3 separate regions of the Homo sapiens genome follow, and regions 2 and 3 are each linked to region 1. Evidence: promoter capture Hi-C in 16 types of primary human blood cells and fetal thymus (Javierre and others, 2016). All regions are on one chromosome and are shown on one strand. Each heading gives the region's core, a stretch centred on a gene start or on the middle of the fragment in contact. The rest is flanking DNA. Distances are from core to core; before and after follow the strand shown.

What was found. The method cuts DNA at HindIII sites, captures the fragments that hold promoters and counts their contacts. A CHiCAGO score of 5 or more calls a contact.
Region 2: a contact is called between a fragment that was not itself captured here and the fragment with the promoter of PARP1 in region 1, in 1 of 17 cell types (total CD4 T cells). The highest score is 5.3, in total CD4 T cells.
Region 3: a contact is called between a fragment that was not itself captured here and the fragment with the promoter of PARP1 in region 1, in 1 of 17 cell types (neutrophils). The highest score is 7.2, in neutrophils.

What each region holds. Positions count from the first base shown.
Region 1 is chr1:226,406,824-226,410,915 of GRCh38, reverse strand. PARP1 (poly(ADP-ribose) polymerase 1) reads left to right here and starts at 2,823. Exons shown (of 23, transcript NM_001618.4): 1 at 2,823-3,106. The coding sequence starts at 2,987. RefSeq lists enhancers at 1-37, 2,156-2,300, 2,479-2,608, a cis regulatory region at 2,228 and silencers at 2,639-2,898, 3,149-3,248. The HindIII fragment of the contact is 6,506 bases long and covers 1-3,973 here.
Region 2 is chr1:229,631,872-229,636,149 of GRCh38, reverse strand. URB2 (URB2 ribosome biogenesis homolog) reads right to left here. Exons shown (of 10, transcript NM_014777.4): 3 at 3,705-3,881; 4 at 1-1,233. Among named protein-coding and RNA genes, the nearest start is that of URB2, 7.8 kb to the right of the region's middle. RefSeq lists an enhancer at 1-346. The HindIII fragment of the contact is 2,106 bases long and covers 1,393-3,498 here.
Region 3 is chr1:222,701,533-222,705,884 of GRCh38, reverse strand. AIDA (axin interactor, dorsalization associated) reads left to right here. Exons shown (of 10, transcript NM_022831.4): 2 at 2,668-2,737. Among named protein-coding and RNA genes, the nearest start is that of AIDA, 8.8 kb to the left of the region's middle. The HindIII fragment of the contact is 807 bases long and covers 2,598-3,404 here.

The DNA.
Region 1 (4,092 bases), core at 1,574-4,073:
CCAAACTGAAATATTGAGAAGGCAGTAGGTGATAGTTGGCTTTCCTTAGGTTCTAGGGCAGGAATTCTTAACCTTTTGTGTGTGTGCCTAGGACCCCTTTGGTGGTCCATGAAGCCCTTTCCAGAATAAATATTGTGGAGGAACCTACCTTAATGCAATAGTAGCTTCTAGGTACATTATCAGGCAAACTATCCCACAAGTTACAAAACAGAAAGCCTCACAGACCAAATTATGATGCTTGAATTGCAGGGTTTATTGAATCAGTTTAAAACCACTTACAGCAAGAACTCGATGGGGTGCATAACATACACAGGATAGGGTACAGGCGAGGCAGATGGACCACACCACCAGAACCTAGAATTAGGGAATCCTCCCCTCCCCTCCCCTCCCACCCCTCCCCCCTTCCCCCTCCCCTCCCCTCCCCTCCTCCCCTCCTCTCCCATCCTCCCCTCCCCTCCCATCCTCCCCTCCCCTCCCCTTTTCTCTTCTTTTCTTTTTTTGAGACTGTCTCACTATGTTGCCCAGGCTGGAGTGCAATGGCGTGATCTCGGCTCACTGCAACTTCCACCTCCTGGGTTCAAGCGATTCTCATGCCTCAGCCTCCCGAGTAGCTGGGATTACAGGCACGCACCACAATGCCCAGCTAATTTTTGTATTCTTAGTAGAGACGGGGTTTCACCATGTTGACCAGGCTGGTTTTGAACTCCTGACCTTAGGTGATCCACCCGCCTCAGATTCCCAAAGCGCTGGGATTACAGGCATGAGCCACTGCACCTGGCTAATATTGATATGTTTTCCCTCTCTCTGCCGCATCAGCCTGTCCCACTGACAGAGTTGAGGATGCTCAAGGCGGCTCAACAGAGGGTACCTGGAGCAACTCACACTGCACTATCAGAGAGACACAAGTGCAAGCACACTCAGCCACAGCTGCAGCTCACCAATCAGCCTGCTGAACAGACCTGAACTTTAGCTGCATTTTTGGGGCAGAGCATATGGGTGCCAGGATGGGACCATAATCTTATCACCAATGAGTGGCCATTTAGGGATGATATAGTTGTCAACCCAGAGATGGCATGATCATGCCTTTTGACTTGGTCATTCTCTAAGTAAAACTTTTATTTGTTCCATCATATTTTCCACTTATTCTGTTTACCTTCAAAATATCTTTTTTTTTTTTTTTTGAGACAGGGTCACACTGTCACCCAGGCTAGAGTCCAGTGGCACTATCATGGCTCACCACAGCCTCAACCTTCAGGGCTCAGGTGATCCTCCCACTTCAGCCTCCCGAGTAGATGGGACTACAGGCACCTGCCACCACCCCCAGCTAATTTTTGTAGAGACAAGGTTTTGCCATGTTGTCCAGGCTGGTCTTGAACTCCTGGGCTCAAGGGATCCGGCCACCTCAGCCTCCCAAAGTGCTAGGATTATAGGCATGAGCCACTGTGCCCAGCCTACCTTCAACGTATCTAACTGGTTACTAACTTTTAGGATTCGGCCTATGTCTCACAACCTTCTTGCTTACTCAACATCCTTGTCTCTTAAGCCACTAGCTTCTTCTCTATGGTTAACACTTTTTATGAGTTTTATTCATCTGCTTATTTTTCTTATCCTCTATACCAGAATTGAATATTTTCAAATAAAGCACACTCATGTTACAATCTTTGAAATGAAAAAAAAAAATGCATAGGATTAGAAAAGAAACCAATTTTAATAAACTATATTTTGAAGTATAGTTCTATATTAAACAACAAGATCTAGGCCAGGTGCAGTGGCTCATGCCTGTAATCCCAGCAATTTGGGAAGTCGAGGTGGGAGGATTGCTTGAGGCCAGGGGTTCAAGACCAGCCTGGGCAACATGGAGAGATTCCCCATCTCTTTCTTTACACACACACACACACACACACACAAAATATCTGATAGCAACAGGTGCAGTCATTACCACAATTTCGAGTAGTGATGAGCTTAATAATATTTCGAGTTATCACCAACAACTGTAAAGTAACATGAAAACGTCTGTGATGACTATTGCCCACAAAGTCACAGGTACTGCTAATACTCCTGGTATTTGTAGTCAAATTCATAATAAAGGAAATGCTAGGTTTCAGTTGGTATTTTGTCCCGACGGTCTGTGGACGGCAGGTTAGAACGCCCGTCCAAGCCAGGAGGGTGGACCTAGCACTGCAGGGTCCACCTCGGGCCAATCAACTATATTCCCGAGGCGGGGGCCTGCGCTTCCCGGACCCAGCTGCCCTCAGGGGAGAGAGGACACACTTAAGAGTTTGGGGCCGGCGTGGTAGCTCATGCCCCTGATCCCAGCACTTCGGGAGGCTGAGGCGTGAAGATCACTTGTAGCAGGAGTTTGAGACCAGTCTAGCCAACTTGGCGAGACCCTGTCCCTAAAAAAAATTTTTTTTTAATTAGCCAGTTGTGGTGAGCGCCTGTAGTCCCAGCTACTCGGGAGGCTGAGGTGGGAGGATCGCTGGGCTCAGGAGTTCCAGACTGCAGTGAGCCATGATGGCGGCACTGCACTCCAGCGCGGTGAGACTCAGTCTCAAAAATAAAAGGGGGAGGGGTTGGGGGTAAAATTAGTTGTGAAATCAAGTAAGACTTCCTGGGACAGAACAATCAAAGGGGTGGCGCCGGGTCCTCCAAAGAGCTACTAGCTCAGCCCAAGCCCCGCCTCGGCCCCCAGGGCAGCGGCCCGCAGAGCTCCACCCGGCAGGCGCCCGGGAAACTCCGCCCCCCGGCCGGCAGGGGGCGCGCGCGCCGCCGGCCCCGCCCCGTGGACGCGGGTTCCGTGGGCGTTCCCGCGGCCAGGCATCAGCAATCTATCAGGGAACGGCGGTGGCCGGTGCGGCGTGTTCGGTGGCGGCTCTGGCCGCTCAGGCGCCTGCGGCTGGGTGAGCGCACGCGAGGCGGCGAGGCGGCAGCGTGTTTCTAGGTCGTGGCGTCGGGCTTCCGGAGCTTTGGCGGCAGCTAGGGGAGGATGGCGGAGTCTTCGGATAAGCTCTATCGAGTCGAGTACGCCAAGAGCGGGCGCGCCTCTTGCAAGAAATGCAGCGAGAGCATCCCCAAGGACTCGCTCCGGATGGCCATCATGGTGCAGGTGCGGGCCGCTGTGCGGGCGGCGGGGCGGGGACGCGGCGCCCCGGGTTAACTGTGTCCGGGAAGGCTGGGGGAGGGCGGGCCCAGGGAGCGAGCGGGCCCGGGCCCTCGGAGCGGCACTTGGGGCCTATGGGGCCGCGGCCGCCCCTCCTCCCGAGCGGCCCGGCCGACCCTTCCGGAAGGTTTTGCTGATGTTGCAGGAAAAGCCCGGGAAATAAAGTCTGCAGCTGGTGTTGCCTTTCGCTTTGTGAAAACGAGGAGCCTCTTCTCTTCTCCTTTCTGGGTGGCGGTGTTTTATTACTGCCGTTCGCCTCAGGGGTTGGGGGGGAATTGTACATGGTCTCTTTAAGCTAATCTGATTTTGACCTATCTTGTTCTGGAGGGTTTTTGTTCTACATGGATGGTGGCGACTGACATGTGGGTTTTTTTTTTTTTTGTTAAACCTATTTTTGGCAGTCATTTCAACACGTCATTTAAACGCTCACTCTCATTTTTTATTTTAATTAGGCAGAACTATGCAGAAAGGTGTCATTTCTGTACAGTACATTCACTTTGAGCCTAATTTGTGCTTTAAAGTAACATTTTCCCCAAATTTTCCAGATTCACAGACGCGTTCTCTTGGTGCATTTGCAGCTGTCTGGTTTGAGTAAGAGTGGCTCCAGGGGGGTTTCTCATGTGGGCTTTTTGATAGATTGAATCCCCTTCTGAGGTTTCCTGAGCCTTCTGTGAGGTGGTGGGCTTGAAGGCCCCTGTCATTTCCCAGGGGCTCCTGCCTCCAGCTTCCAGTTTGCCGATGTCTACCTTTGTATTAATAATTCTGGTTCTCATCTGCCCTGTTCCTCCTCGCTTCCAACATATTACCCAAGCTTAGTGCTCATGGTCAAGGTAGCTTGATTTTCCTCCCTTCCATGAGCTGTAATGTGTTTTAGGAATGACCAGATATCCCTCAGTGGATTTTCAGTACTTAGTACAAGGGAGGGCGACATT
Region 2 (4,278 bases), core at 1,196-3,695, 3.2 Mb before region 1:
GTCCAGGATCTGACTTGGAGGCAGCTCCAGGAGGCATGCAGAGAGTACCGTGGAGGGGCCCGAGGCCAGCACAGGCTGCCTCAGTGCCTCAGCAGCTGGACGACAGATCACCCCCAAAACCTCTTCAAACAACCGTGGCACTTGTCGGAGTTTGGCATAAGTCTGGAAGACAGTACGAATAAGCGCCTCCTGGGCTTTTTTGGTTCGAAACTCTGTTACCTCGGCATCGATCCACGCTGAAGCCAGCAGGTCATCCAGGTCTGGCTCCAAAATCAAATGATTCAGAGATATCAAAGTCTTCAGACAGCGGAACCAGGCCGGTATGGGTGCTTGTGCATGGTTTATCAGCAGCTCAGCCACGTGGCGGTAAAAGCGGAACTGAGCCTCTTCGTGCCGAATTCTGTCGGCAGCGATGTTGTAGATATTGTTGTTGGCCACTGAGTTTAGTAGCTGTTCCACAACCAAAAGCTCTGTGGTCCAATCTGATGTGGACAGGGCTTTGCTCTGCTCCTCCTGCAGGTGTGAAATCTTCAAGCAGCCAAACAACCTGGGGAGAACCTGGAAGCAGAGAAGCTGGTTTCCCTCCTTAAAGTAAGAATCTAGAAAGAGCTTATACAGCAAGGCCACTGAGTTGGCCACAACAGAGGTATGAAGGGATGCTGCACAGTAGCCAGCATCAACCAGCCTGTTAAGCACGGTGTCCATGGGAGCCAGAAGGTTCTTCATGGCTCCCGTCTTCACATCCCCTTGCTGCTGGTCCAAGAGCCCCTCCTTGTAGGATGACAGTAGCTCAGGCTGAAAAATCCCTCCTCGGAACATGGCCTCAATCTGACTCCTGATGTCCCGGCTCAGCACCTGCCTCAGCTGGCCCTGGCCAGCCTGCGTCCATGTGCCCCCAGAGAGTAAGTGCCTCAGGACCAGGCACGGCTGGAGCAGGTGAGCAGTCACATCCCCAAAGGCACGTCTTGGGTTGACCTGCTGCTGCAGGATCAAGAGATAATGGCCAAGGGCCAGGTGAATGACCTCAAACAACTGGGCTACCACAGCTCCTTCGGGCTGCCTGCAGGCCGACCAGCAAAGCTGGCTCAGCAAGGCCACCATCAGCTCCTGTTTGGCCGTGTAGATGACAGCCAGGGCAGGTGTCGACAGGATGCCCTGGCAACATCGAAGGACAGCACAGATGTTTCTTTGGGATCCCGAAAGAGAGAACTCAGCTACTCTCTCATTGATGATCTGAACATTAAGAAAGAAAGAAAATTCATTACTGACCTTAAACCCATACATACACAAGAAAAGTATTAAAAAAAAAAATCAACAAACTCACCCCTTTCCCTCATCTTGGTAAGAAAGAAATGCCCAGATTACCATATTTCAATGAACCTGACATAAGCTTAGTGCATCAAAATAAGGCAAAGCATCTGTTTCAATTCCTCCACCCATCCATCTTCTACCAATGCAAATCTAGAAAAGGATCCGTGCCTTTGTAAATTTGCTGTCCCTTTTTTTAAAGCTGGGTTTTAAAGGGCTTAAATACCAAATGTCACTTTCTCTTAGATCCTAAACCTGCAATTGAGCTTAGATGTTACCAGGCAGAGGGAAAGTTGCACTTAAATTATGATCTTGTGGTCCAAAATACATGTTTATAGGCCAGGCACAGTGCCTCACACCCGTAATCCCAGCACTTTGAGAGGCCGAGGCAGGCGGATCACTTGAGGTCAGGAGTTTGAGAACAGCCTGGCCAACGTGGTGAAACCTGACTCCACTAAAAATGAAAAAATTAACCGGGCATGGTGGCAGGCAGCTGTAATCCCAGCTACTTGGGAGGCTGAGGCAGGAGAACTGCTTGAACCTGGGAGGCAGAGGTTGCAGTGAGCTGGGATCGAGCCACTGCACTCCAGCCTGGGTGACAGAGCGGGACCCTGTCTGAAAAAAGAAAAAAAAATGCATGTTTATAGTCAATTATACTTTTTCTATTTAAAAAAGCCAAAGCAAAAGGCACTCTTTTAAAAAGGAAAGCAGCTGGGCATGGTGGCTCATGCCTGTAATCCCAACACCTTGGGAGGCTGAGTCGGGGCGGATCACTTGAGGCCAGGCGTTCGAGAACAGCCTGGTCAACATGGTGAAACACCATCTCTACTAAAAATATAAAAATTAGCCGAGCATGGTGGTGCACACCTGTAGTCCCAGCTACTCGGGAGGCTGAGGCACAAGAATCGCTTGAACCCAGGAGGCAGAGGTTCCAGTGAGCCAAGATCACACCACTGCACTCCAGCCTGGGTGACAGAGACTCTATCTCAAAAAAATTTTTTAAAAAGGAAAGCAAATGTTATGTTGCTACTGCTTATTATACAGCAAATCTATTGTCTACTGCTCTCAAAATTCCAAAATTCACAAACACCAGAAATTATGAGAATCAGGCAGATTCTATAATTCAGTCACAGGTTAAGTTACTTGCTCCCAGCCTTATGGAATCTGAGAACCAAACCTATCCCAGGTGCTAAGTTATCAGTGCCCTAATGAGATAGGTATTATAATTTCTATTCAAGTAATTGCTGGCTTTTAAAGTTACTCTGGAAACGCTGTAACAAAGATGAGAAATCCTTAAATGTCAATGCACTATTACAGTGATCTCCAAATTTTTGATGATGATACAACTCATCGATTTTTCCTGCATTTATATTCAATAAGTGTAATTTATTTATAAATTATGCACATATGCTGCAGCACTAACATTTTATATAATTATGAAGCATACATAAAAATAAAATTTAAGTATGGCTTTTTAAACAAGGAGACATTCTAAGATTTTCTTCCCATATTCCAAAAGATCCTTTGAAATAAGCCACTTTGGTGACCACTGGTTTATTATTTTAAAAAGTGACCCAGTTTGGAACACAATCTCAAGAACCATTAAGCCCTATGCGCCATTGGGCAGCTCAACCTTCGTTCCCCTCCGTTACTAGCCTCTAACGATTTTCTCTCAGCCCGCACACTCATGAGGGTGAGGCAGTGTTATGGCTTCATAGCCCAGGATTTACACTCAGGCAGAGTGAGGTTCAAATCCCAGCTGTGCCACTAACTAGCCATGTGACTTTAGGAAAGTTAAACTTCTTTGAGCCTGGCACACATGAAGTGCTCACTAGTAGTAGTTTTTATTGTATCTAGCTATTCTCATGGTATTTAAACACACTCAGTTTTGACAATGAAGTTCCTACTTCTGATCTGAGACTTCAAAATCACTTTCAGTCAAAAACTGAGGTGGCCCCGGGTTGCCGGCCAAGCCACTAGTGGCACTTGTGGCTCGAAGGCCGTAGTGGCAAAAAAAAAAAAAAAAAAAACCTTTGAGGAAATTCCTGTCCGGATTTTGGCCTTTGATCTCCCTCTAGCCCAAAAGAAAGGTAAAGAAGAAGAAAAACAAATCAGAGAAGCATAATTTGCTAGCTACCTTTTCCAATTAAAAAGGTAATCAATGACCTGTTTATGAAATCGTTCCAAGCTTTTTTTGAATATTAAATAACAAAATGCTTAGAGCATATGATACACATTCAATAGTTACTATTTTAATTCCAATAATATTACATCCTTTTTCTCCTACCTTAGTATTTCCTATATCTTCATACAATTGACACTAAAACAAGTTTCCAGCATTAACAAGAAATCAATGGAGATGCATGCAACACATACAGAACAGAAAAGTGAATTACCTTGACTAGGGAAATCTGAAGATTAATGGTCTTTCCATTCTTGAGGAGATTCTGCAATTTTCTGCTATGTAAAATGTTATCTATATAGATCCAAAGCCTTTCAACAATATCTTCCTTCAGTTCAAGCTTTTTCTTATAAAATGCAACCAATGATTGTCTTGCCCAATCAAGTAACACCTGAATTTGAAGGACACATACACTGAAAATAAATTTATTTGCTGAGAGAAAGATGTTAGACATTATAGGGACATTACAGGTATAAGCAAATCCAATTGCCACGGGGGCGGCGGGGGAGAACCTCTCTTTTACAACTTACCTTTGATAATATTACTTACGTGTTCTGGTATTTTAAAATGTTTATTATTAAAGGATAAGAACAGGAAAACAACAAATTTGTCTTCAGCTAGGGCAAATTAAAAGTTTCAGGTGAAACTAACACGTCTTAACCCGTTTTTTGAGGTTATACAGGCATACCTCATTTTATTGTGCCTTGTAGATACAGATATTGCATTTACAAATTGGAGGTTTATGGCAACCCTGTGCCAAGCAAGTCTATCAGATCCTTTATTCCAAC
Region 3 (4,352 bases), core at 1,752-4,251, 3.7 Mb after region 1:
TTGATGGAGTTTTGGTCTTGTTACTCAGGCTGGAGTGCAGTGGTGCGATCTTGGCTCACTGCACCCTTTGCCTCCCGGGTTCAAGCGATTCTCCTGCCTCAGCCTCCACAGTAGCTGGGATTACAGGTGCCAGCCACCACGCCCCGCTAATTTTCATATTTTTAGTAGAGACAGGGGTTTCACCATGTTGGCTAGGCTGGTCTCGAACTCCTCACCTCAGGTGATCCACCCACTTGGCCTCCCAAAGTGCTGGGATTACAGGTGTGAGCCACTCTGCCTGGCCTTGCATAACTTTTATGCAAGATTCCTTTTGAATCAAGCATCCTTCCTTTCCCTATTGCCAATTAGCGGTTGAACAGGAGTGTAGAATTACACCCTTCTGACAGTGATTCTGCTTAGGTTGATGGCCACCACTGCAAATTATGTGTAGAATTACTCAAAGAAACTCATTCCACACTGTAACTTCCCTGAGTTCAGGGATGTATAGTTGATGTTGTTAAGGATACAGTGTATAGATTACTCGGGAGTACTCCATGTAGGTGGTAGGCCAGTAAGAGTTAGAAAAGAAACCAAGTACAGAACAAAGACAATGGCTATATTGTTTCTATTTGTACCTTCTCCTGTATAGAATCCACAAAAAGTGAGTCTATGAATGACATTTTAGGGAAAATATTATGAGGCTTCCAGCTTTGGGAGAAAAGAAATAAATGAATAGAAGCAGTTCGACTAAGTAACACAGTGGAGCTATCTTGCAAATATTAAGTTTTTTTGAAGCTAATTATTGCCTTATGTTAAGGAGGATGCAAACCTTTCATAAATTGGATAGAGGCCATCAAGAATAAGGTACTTTATGCCTTATCTTTAAAGACATGATTGCATAGAACTCCCATCTAGTACATTTTATTTGGAAACATAAACTATTTCCTGCAGTTGGCTTGGTAGAAAATCTAGCACTTGCTACCCTTTGTATTCCTGTTCCTATTGCCCACCCAGAATAGTACATAATATGCTTGGGAGTTTAATTTTCAAATTCTTATGCCAGTTTTTTCTCATATATTTTTTTAAAATTGAGATAAATATCACATCACATGAAACTTACCAGTTTAAAGCGTACAATTCCATGGTTTTTAGTGTATTCACAGTGTTGTACAACCATTTCCACTGTCTAATTCCTGAACATTCCCATCACTCCCGAAAGAAACCCCATACTTGGTATCAGTTACTCCCAGTTCCCTCATCTCCTGGCAACCACTAATCTGCTTTTTGTCTCTGTGGATTGATCTAGTCTGGACATTTCATATAAATGGAATCATATAACGTATAATCTTTTGCATCTGGCTTTTTTCATTTAGCATAATGTTTTTGAAGTTCATCTGTGTTACACATGTTAGTAGTACTTCATTCCTCTTTTTGACTGAATAATTTTCCATTGAATGGATATACCACATTTTGTCCATCAGTTGATGGACATTTTGGTAGTTTTCACTTTTTGGCTGTACATTTGTGTTCAGTTTTTTTGTGTGTAAACATATGGTTTTTCAGTTCTCTTGGATATATACCTAGGATTTTGAAATTGCTGGGTCATACAGTAAGTCTATATTTAACTTTTTGAGGAATGGCCAAATTGTTTTCCACAGTGGCTGGTGCCATTTTACATTCCCACCAGCAATATCTGAGGGTTCCAGTTTTTCACATCCTGTCAGTACCTGTTGTCTTCTCTCTCTTTCCCCCATAAGGATGCAGTTCCATTTTTTAAAAAATTGTACTCATTCTAGTGGGTATGAAGTGATAGCTCATTGTGATTTTGATCTGTGTTTTCATAATGACTAGTAATGTTGATCATCTTTTCATGTGCTTATTGACCATTTTATGTCTTCTTTGGAGAACTATCTATTCAAATCCTTTGTCCAAAATTGGTCTTTTTATAGTTGAGACCATAGTTTTATAGTTTAGTTTGTAAGAGGGTTGACTTTTACAAACTAAACTATACAAGTTTTTTGCTGTCTCAGAAATAACTTTGGGTCCTTATTGTTGAGCTTGGACTAATAATATAGATCCATCCACTAAAAACTCATGCAAGGCCTAGCTGTTATTTTTAAGTATAATGATAATTGGACAATGATTTCTGTTGCTGATTGGTGGAGAATTTGCTTTATTTTCCATGAAAACATGTTTTCAAAAGTATATATTGATAGTAGGATGGATTATTACCACTTTGTCATTGCTGTAATTTGGATTAGGACTAATTTTACTACCAAATCAATGACAGACTGATAAAGTATCTCTGGTTGGTATAATCACTGGTGCTCCCTGGAAGTGTTTAAGCAGAATCTGGACAACTACTTATTGGCTTATTATAGAAGAAAGTCATGCATACTAAAGAAAGTTGGATTAGATGCCCTTTGAGATTCTTTCCAGCTCTGTTTTTACTGCCTAGAGCTGAAGTTTGTCCCAGTGAAATGGTATGAAAAGTATTGTATCTTATTTTCATCATCATTGTATAAAGAGTTTTTTTTTTTTTGAGAAGAATTTGGTTCTCAATGTAGATTTGTATTTTAAAAACAGGACAATAATTGTACTTCACATGTTAAAAAGCTTTAAATTGTTACACTTTGTTGCAGTAGTTTGCTTTTCTTCCATTCTAAAGAATATGTTTTCTTCTTACAGATTAGCAAGACATCTACAAAAGGAGGCCCAAGCTCAACACAATAATTCTGAATTCACAGAAGAACAAAAGGTACCATAAAATAATCTCTAGATATATCAGATTCCAAACAAAAAGTGTTTTGTCTTTTGAGTTCATTAAGCAAAACAAAAAACAACAAAACAAAAACAAAAAACTGTTATACTTAAGTAAAAAGAATGATATTGATTATGCTTTGCCTAACATTAAGTGATTATTTAGAGATACCATATGACTTATCAATTTAAAGCAATACAATTGTTGTACTCAGCCATTTAGGCTTTGCTTAACTTTGCTTAACTTTAGTGGAGACCATTCATGCTTTCGCTGAAGAGGGGGAGAACCCAGTCCACACTTTGGTGAAGACTGGGGAAACCCAGAGACTGGAGTGTGTCTAGAGTCCTTGGGAAAATAGAAAGATTGTGGGTAATTGCATTCCACCCCAGCACTTACTTGATTCTGAACTTTCCTAACTCCTGTCTACCTTCTCTCAGAACAAACAAATACACACAAAAAACAAAAGACCAAGACAAACCAAAACACCTCTCCACTGAAAACAATTAGTTCAAGTCAAGAATTTGGCATAAAAATCCATCTGCAAAATAAATGCGTAAGGTTGCAAAATGTTTCAATCGTGCCTTTTCTCCTTGAATTAAATTTTTTGTGTGTCAAGTTGAGTTTCTAAACTGTTAGTGATTATGAAAAATGGGCGACTGAAGCTTTAAAAGAGTTAGAAGGAATGGGAGGAAACAACTCCCATTATCTCTTGGCTCAGAGTATCTAGTGTTAAGTCAATGTTTAATCTTGTAGATAATGAAAAAAAAAGTGTCAGTCTATTCCCCATCTCTTAAGAAAAGACAGTGTGAAAACTATGGCAACATAATTTGCTCTTATTCTTTACAAAGGGAATGTACAAAGGGAGTGGTAATGATTTTTCCACACTTTTATGGTAAGCCTAACAACATCCATTTTAGTCTATTCATCTACGTTCATTTGACTCTTATTTATAGGAATTTGGGAAGAAGAAGCCCCTAAAGATTAGGGTTGCCACATTTCTTACACAAGTTTGTATATTTGCATTTTAAAAATATTTAGGATCTACTTTATCTAATGTACTTTTTTATTTTGTATTTAAAAAACAAAAATCACTACAATTTAAAAGAATTTTTTTTTTTTTTGGCTGGGTGTGGTAGCTTACGCCTGTAATCCCAGCACTTCGGGAGGCCGAGGTGGGCAGATCACTTGAGGTCAGGAGTTCGAGACCAGCCTGGCCAATATGGTAAAACCCCGTCTCTACTAAAAATACAAAAATTAGCTGAGTGTAGTGGTGTGTGCCTGTAATCCCAGCTACTAGGGAGGCTGAGGCAAGAGAATCACTTGAACCTGGGAGGCAGAGGTTGCAGTGAGCTGAGATAGCACCACTGCACTCCAGCCTGCGCGACAGCCAGAGCAAGACTCTTGTCTTGAAAATAAATAAATTTTTAAAAAAAGAATATTTTTTTTTCTTAGTAGCTCCTAATATACACAATAGATATTAGGAGTCTTAGGATTTTAGCCCTGGAAAATAATGACCACAGTGGAAATTACTGATTTGCTTAAGGAAAGGAGCCTCTGTAAAATCTGAAATTTCTCTAGGAATTGATTAGGAAATGATCAGCTGGCATCACAG